Regions from separate parts of the Homo sapiens genome. Here region 1 is linked to region 2. The links are contacts of gene promoters, found by promoter capture Hi-C in human tissues and cell types (Jung and others, 2019). All regions are on one chromosome and are shown on one strand. Each heading gives the region's core, a stretch centred on a gene start or on the middle of the fragment in contact. The rest is flanking DNA. Distances are from core to core; before and after follow the strand shown. Region 1 overlaps LOC124900214 (arf-GAP with GTPase, ANK repeat and PH domain-containing protein 2-like). Region 2 holds the start of GUCA1B (guanylate cyclase activator 1B).

Region 1 (3,770 bases), core at 73-2,572, 260 kb after region 2:
AGTTTCTTTGCCTGTAAAATGGGAATGATAGTATTCATATCATAGTGTTATTGTGAGGTTTAAATGAGTTATTTTATGTAAGGCCTTAGAGTTTAAAGCAAGTTACTAATATTTGTGAATAGGGTTGTGTATCCTCCCCCGCCCCGCCCCCCCCCCACCTTCCAAAGGACTCTAGAAAATCAGATCCTCAGAGTCTTAGCTGATTGAAGCATCAGAAAAATATCTATGGGGCCAGGCGGGGTGGCTCACACCTGTCATCCCAGCGCTTTGGGCGGATGAGGTAGGCGGATCGCTTGAGCTGAGGAGTTTGAGACCAGCCTGGACAATGTAGAGAGACCCTCTCCACGTTTATTATTAAAAAATAAAAAATTAGCCAGGCATAGTGGTGCATGCCTGTAGTCCCAGCTACTGAGGAGGCTAAGGCAGGAGGATGGCTTGAGCCCACGGGGTTGAGGCTGCAGTGAGCAGATTGCCCCACTGCACTCCAGCCTGGGTGACAGCGCAAGACTCTGTCTCAAAAAATAAAATTATATATATAGAGAGAGGGAGAGAGAGAGAGAGAAAGAGAGCACCAAAAGGACTGGGAAACACCGGCAGATGCACAGACAATGCATCCCTGATTTTACCAATAGACTTGACTCCCAACAATGCATACTCTTGAAGGCAATCCACAGGTTGAATAAACCAAGTCCATGAGCGCTGGGTCTGGAATCTTTCTACAATCAGGGTCAGAAGGAGGGTGACTGAAATTAAAATATTAGCTTGGATCTTTGAAATCAGAGTCAGGCTGAAAAAGTCCCAATCTTAGTTCAAAACCTGTCCTGCATGACTGAAGCCCTCCTAGGGCTGCACAAAGTATAATGGAATTATTATTATTATTATCATTAGATCCTAGTCTTACCATTCTCAGCACTTATCCCCATAGCAAAAGACCATTTTTTAATGTAATTTATTCTTTTGGAATAGGTTGAATGCATTCACATGGTTCCAAATTCAAATAAACAGCAAGAAGTCTCCCTCCCACCCTGTCTGCCACCCACTTGGTTTTCCTTCTCTGGAGGCAACCTGGGTTAGTGGTCAGAAGATGCATTTAACTGTTTTCCAGCTGAGGCCTTGTGAGAACTCCTCGGACACCAATTTAAATCTTTATGTCCAGAACTCCTTTCTCCAATCCAGGTAGAGCCACTCCCCTATCCTATCCCCACTCCCACCCTTCCCCCCTTCAGCCTCAATCCTAAGCAGGCTCTATTAACAATGATGAGCCACCATTTCCTCGAGCTACTAACAAATGCAAATGTTTAAATACTTTGTGGTTCTTTTTCCTCTTCTACATTAATTGCTAACATTTATCGAGGGCTTTCCGTGTGCCACGCACTGTGCTAAATACTAGGCATGCATATTCTTATTTAATCTGCCCCAAATCTTCATCATTATCCTTATTTACAGATGCAGACAGAAATGAAAGTTCAGAGAGATTATGTAATTTGCACCAATTTGCATCCAGGCCAACCTGAATCCAAACCCTATCTCTTTTTACTTTTTCTTTCCTTTTTTTTTTTTTTTTTAAACAGGGTCTCACTCTTGTCAGCCCAGATGGCATGCAGTGGCACAGTCTATGGAGGCAATCAGGGTTAGCTGTCAGCTCACTGTGGCCTCAACCTCCCAGGCGCAAGTGATCCTCCCACCTCAGCATCCCCAGTAGCTGGGACTACAGGTGTACGCCACTACCCCCAGCTAATTTTTGTATTTTTTTGTAGAGATGAGGTTCCACCATTCTTGCCCAGACTGGTTTCGAACTCCTGGACTCAAGCGATTTGCCTGCCTCGGCCTCAAAAAGTGCTGGGATTACATGCATGAGCCACCACACCCGGACCCTCTCTCTTAAATAGTGGCCCTTTTGCCTCTCTGCAACACAGGAAAAATTCTGTTAGCCTGCATCAGAAGGAGTGGCATGGAGGCTTTGGAGTTAAGAAGATTTAATTCAAATTATGTGTCCGGTGCCTGCCAGCAATGAGACCTTGGTAAGGTTTCTTAACCTCTCTGAGCTGGGACCATACCTTCTGCGTTGGTTTAATATAAAGGTTAAATGCATGTAAATAAATGACTTCTAAAATAAATAACATTCTAAAATGTTAGTAACAACTAAATACAATATTTAGATCTTGTGAGGATTTGATTTGAATAAATAAGATTTTTTTAAAAGACATTTTTGAGACAAAATGTAGACTATCTGATATTAAGAAATTAATCACTTTTTCAGATATGATAATGGCATTGCAGTTTTTTTTAAGTTCTTATCTATTACAGATACATAATGAGGCATTTTGAGTGAAAATATATCTAGGATTTGCTTTCCAATACTCCATCCCCTCCCCATCAAAACACTAAATAAATGAAACAAGATTAGTGAAATACGGAAAATTGTTGAAGTTATTCATTATTCCATTTCCCATATGGAACTTTCCATACTAGTTTCCCTACTGCTGTTGAATATTTGACATGTTTCAAATACATTTGAAATAAATTTATTGTCTGAGATGATCAGGTTGAAAAATAATAAAATGAAATAAATTTAAAAGTAAAATAAACATAACCCTTTTAAGCATTAAAATTAAAAATTATGAGGCTTGTTGAATTATTACTGTTATAAATAATTACATACATGTATTTTTGAAACAGTCTTGCTCTTTCACCCAGGCTGCAGTGCAGTGGCATAATCACAGTTCACTGCGGCCTCAACCTCCCAGGCTCAGGTGATCCTTGCACGTCTGCCTCCCAAGTAGCTGGGACTGCAGGTGTGCACCACCATGCCTGGCTAAATTTTTCTCTTTTGTAGAGACGGGTTTTGCGATTTTGCCCACACTGGTCTTAAAGTCCTGGGCTCACGGGATCCTCCCACCTCAGCCTCTCAAAGTGCTGGGATTATAGGCATGAGCCACTGCACCCAGCCTAACATTTTTTAAGTTAACAAAATACAATGCTAGTACATAATAGGCATCCAGAAATGGCATTTTTTGTCACCATGAGCCATTCAGGGTAGCATGTAAGTCAGACCTGAGCCCTGAAAAGAGCAAGGTAGACAGGTAATTGTTAAGGACGCATTTAATTCCACAGAAGACAGCATATATGAAGGTAAATGGCAGAAGGACTGGGTGACAGGAACAGGCAAATTAAAGTTAGGGGCTGGTTTTCCCTGAAAATGTGCATCACTGCAGAGACACCTCAAGAATTTATAGACTTGGAATCAGATGCACTGGGTGAAATTCTCAACTCTGCTCACGGTTCTGCCACCCAGTCCAGAACTGTGACTGACTTCCCTCGTTTTCAGTTTAGATGCTAGAACTCTCTGGCTCCTTCTAGTTGTCTAGACTGTCCACAATGCTGCTGGCTTTCCCAAGAGAAGGATCATTTCTGAGGCTACGCTGGTTATTTGCCTATCTCAGGAACAAATCAGAGCTGAATGGAAATGTATCCAGTCCATAATCAAACGAAACGTTTTAGGCCCAGTGAGCATTTGTATATTGTTCTTGGAGTAATTTTTCCATGCTCTGGATTTAAGCAGCTGGAATGATTTTTACATATGACCCCGTTTTGAAATGAAAGTTTGTCCTCTTTAAGAGAAAGTGTGCATTTTGGGGAAAAGATAAGACAATATATTTGGTAACTCTTCAAATAAGTGAACCCTTCTATAAAATACTTCCCTTTATATTAAAGGTGGAGCTTTGGGAGAGCTTCTTAAAAACTGGACAAACTGCAGGCATGGAAAAATA
Region 2 (3,869 bases), core at 1,071-3,570:
CAGGAGGTGGAGATTGCAGTGAGCTGAGATTGTGCCACTGCACTCTAGCCTGGGCAACATGGCGAGACCTCATCTCTACCAACATAAATAAATAAATAATACAAAAATTAGCAGGCATGGTGGTGCACACCTGTAATCCCAGCTACTTGAGAGGTTGAGGTGGGAGGATCCCTTGAGCCTGGGAAATCAGAGGCCGCAAAGAGCTGAAATCATGCCACTGGGTGACAGAGCGAGACTCTGTCTCAAAAACAAAAAAGAAAATACACACTGAAATACTTAGGGATAAACGGGCATGATATCTATAGCTTTCTCTTAAAAAAAGTATATGTATAAATTATGTATCATGTATATGTATATATACTTATAGGATACATTATATATATGTATGTATACAGAGAGAGGCAGAATGATAAAGTAAATGATATAAAATGTGAATAACTGGGGAAATTTGGATAAATTGCATATGGGAGTTACTTGTATCATTCTTATAACTCTTCTGTAAATTTAGAATCATAGTAAAATTAAAAAGTTATTCAAAAAGGAAAAAACATTGATGAACATCATATGCCGATTTATAAGAAGAGATGAGGTATAAGGAGTACAACTATATGCCTAGGGGCTTAATCAGCCCTTTGGATCTTGAATCATGATCGTATTGATTTTTAGATGAATCTGGGGAAGATTGATGGACTTAAATGAGTCTTATTATTTATGACCTGATATATTTGTTTACTTTTCTTACATTTTAAAAAAACATCAATTATTTTAAAAAGTCATCTTCTCTCTTTAAAAAACCTGCCTTCTAGGCAGGAGCACTTAAGACCTTGGGCAAATCGATTCATTCCCTTTTGCCCAGCTTTCTCATCATTTAATTTGGAATAACAAAAGTCTGCCCCTCCCACCCAGGGTTGCTGCTGATTCAGAGGAGACCTAAGAGAGGCGGAGCGCTGAGAAGTCCGAAACTGGCTCTGTGCCCTGTGGGGTGGTCGATGGGGTTCATCTCTAAGGAGGTTCTGTTGAATTGAAGGTGCTGACCTCACCCTCCTGTCCCGGGACAGGCACTGTGGGGACGTGCACTGACTGGTACCAGCGACAGGATGAGACCTGAAGTGGCATTCCCAGTGATTCAGCTTAGAAAGCTAAGTTCTCCACGCACTGAGGAATGGAGAACTGACACTTTCTTCAGATTAAATTGGTATTTGAGGCAAATACCAGGGCATTTGAGGTATTTGAGGTATTTGAGGATTGCCAGGGCACTGAACTGGATAACCTTAAATAATCAAGGGGTTTTTAACTGAATTGAAATTTAAAATTCAATCCCCTGGTGCATTTACAAGATGTGTTATCTTCTTAGCTGCTAGTGACATTGTGGGCTTAGAGAAACTCTAGTCTGAATGATTTAATGAAACCTTCCAGGACTTGAAGAGCTGAAAGGGGCTTTTGCAGTCATTCGCCCAGTCTCCCAATACATGCAGGAGCCTCTTCCAGCATTCTTGACAGGGAGGATCTGACCAGTCTCAGAAGAACCCCAACAAGAGGGAGCTCATAGCCCATGCTAAGATACCTTGTCTCATTTAGAACATCTCTTTTGCTCCTAGTGTTTAGAGTGACAGGGGCTCTGGCAGATGCGAAAACCCGGTCATTGGGCTGCAGAGTCTTGGTCAAAAATACACAAAGAGAGGACCTGGACTGTCTGCCAGTCGCCCTTCAGCTCTCAAGAAGAGGACACAGGGAGCATCAGCCGACAGCTAAGAGATGGAGGGAGGGAAGGAGAGACAGAGAAGATGGAAAGGGACAAAAGGAAGAGAAGAGACAGAAGGGTTTGGTGAGTGAGACAGAAAAGGTAAAGAGAGACGGAGTGGAAAGAAGAGCAGAGAAAGAGCCGAGGAGTGGGGAACTGGGAGCTCTCCCTGAGGACACTTGTGGAGGAAGGCGCCAGGTGGACTGGCCACTGGTCCTTCCCTTCAGGGTGCCTTACCCCATTCTTGTCGAAGGCTCGGAACATGCCCTCTACATACTGGGAGGCCTCCTCATCGTCTGTGACCTTGAAGAAGCGCTTAAACTCATGCATAAAGAGTGTGCCGCTGGGGCACTCCATCACAAACTTCTTGTACCACTCCTGGAGCTCCGCCACATCTATCTCGCCAGCTGCCTCCGCCTCCTCCCAGCTAAACTCCTGCCCCATGCTAGCCCTGAGGAGCATCAGGGAGCAAGGGTCTGTATCTCCTCCCTGGCTTCTGCTGATGGATCTCTCCAACTAGGGCCCTCTTCCTCCCTTTCCAGGAGGCCTGATCAGCCTCTCCATCATCTCCTGGGTGACTGAACATGATCAGTCGGTGCAGGGGGCAGGTGGCAAGGGAGGTGGGTCCAGGCCAGCTAAGCTGCCCTAAGACTATTAGAAGATTCCCCAGGTGGCCGGGTGCGGTGGCTCATGCCTGTAATCCCAGCACTTTGGGAGGCCGAGGTGGGTGGATCACAAGGTCAGGAGTTCGAGACCAGCCTGGCCAACATGGTGAAATCCTGTCTCTACTAAAAATACAAAAAATTAGCTGGGCATGGTGGTGGGTACCTGTAATCCCAGCTATTCAGGAGGCTGAGGCAGGAGAATCACTTGAACCTGGGAGATAGAGGTTGCAGTGAGCTGCGATCACACCACTGCACTCCAGCCTGGGGGACAGAGTGAGACTCTGTCTCAAAAAAAAAAAAAAAAAAAAAAAAAGAGATTCCCCAGGAAGTTCTGACCTCCAGCCTAAACTCCTCCAGCCTCACTCCTTCCCTTAGCCTTGTCAACAAAGCAACCAAGCTGGCCCTGGTAGACTCTGAAGAGGTAGAAGGGGAAGAAACTGAGAGGTAAGCAGAGAGATGCAGAGTGAAGAAAGAGTCGGGGTGCTAGGCTGGGATCCTCCCATCTCACTCACTCCCTATCTCTTTAGCTGGGCCTCACATTGCTTCAGGGAGGCCCATCTTGGAGACAGGAGACTCAAATCCAGAGAGGAAGTGAGATCAAGTCCTAGGCCATAAAACAGAATCTGCTGGTGATCTGGGACTCGCCCCTCAGACGGTCTAGTGAAAAGAGGCAGAATCTATGATGGGAAGGGCTCTAGGTGAGCAACTCTCTTCCCAGGCTAACTCGGTCCCTGAAGCTCCTTTCCAGATTACACCTTTCATCTTGGGAGCTTTTCACTTTCTGATTTAAACTACAAATGCCTCCCTCCAACCCTTCACACAAGACCTAGGGGTAGTGCCTTTTTCACATTTCCTCCAAAATACTAACATGTGAGAAGGATCTGGGAGCATGGCCTAAAATATCTTTGAAGGCTCTTACTTTTACATTATAGGTCATGTAAAATTTGCTTTTGAACAATTACATATTCATGCTTATTTTAATGTAACATAAAAATGACACCTCCAAGAAATCAAAAGACCAGGGACACACATTTTTCTTTTTCTTTGCTTTTTTTTTTTAAATTTCTATTTTTTGAGACAGGGTCTCGCTCTGTCGCCCAGGCTGGAGTGCAGTGGTGTGATCTCGGCTCACTGCAACTTCCGCCTCCGGGTTCAAGTGATTCTCATGCCTCAGCCTCCCGAGCAGCTGGGATTACAGGTGCACACCACAACACCCAGCTATTTTTTCTTCTTTTTTTTTTTTTTATTATACTTTAAGTTCTAGGGTACATGTGCACAACATACAGGTTTGTTACATAGGTATACATGTGCCATGTTGGTTTGATGCACCCAGCAGCCAGCTAATTTTTGTATTTTTAGTAGAGATGGGGTTTCATCATGTTGGCCAGGCTGGTTTCAAACTCCTGACCTCAAGTGATCCACCCGCCTTGGTCTCCCAAAGTGCTGGGATTATAGGCATGAGC

What was found. Contacts are between HindIII fragments. The study calls those that stand out against the background at their distance.
Region 1: a contact is called between a fragment that was not itself captured here and the fragment with the promoter of GUCA1B in region 2, in 1 of the 25 tissues and cell types used here (mesenchymal stem cells).

Annotation. Positions count from the first base shown.
Region 1 is chr6:42,454,979-42,458,748 of GRCh38, forward strand. It overlaps LOC124900214 (arf-GAP with GTPase, ANK repeat and PH domain-containing protein 2-like), which reads left to right. Exons shown (of 4, transcript XM_047419627.1): 3 at 967-1,176; 4 at 1,758-2,206. It overlaps LOC107986596 (a long non-coding RNA gene), which reads left to right. Exons shown (of 5, transcript NR_171668.1): 4 at 967-1,176; 5 at 1,758-2,206. Among named protein-coding and RNA genes, the nearest start is that of TRERF1, 4.9 kb to the left of the region's middle. The HindIII fragment of the contact is 4,823 bases long and covers 1-3,734 here.
Region 2 is chr6:42,192,636-42,196,504 of GRCh38, forward strand. It overlaps GUCA1B (guanylate cyclase activator 1B), which reads right to left and starts at 2,321. Exons shown (of 4, transcript NM_002098.6): 1 at 1,979-2,321. The coding sequence starts at 2,185. The HindIII fragment of the contact is 9,949 bases long and covers 1-3,869 here.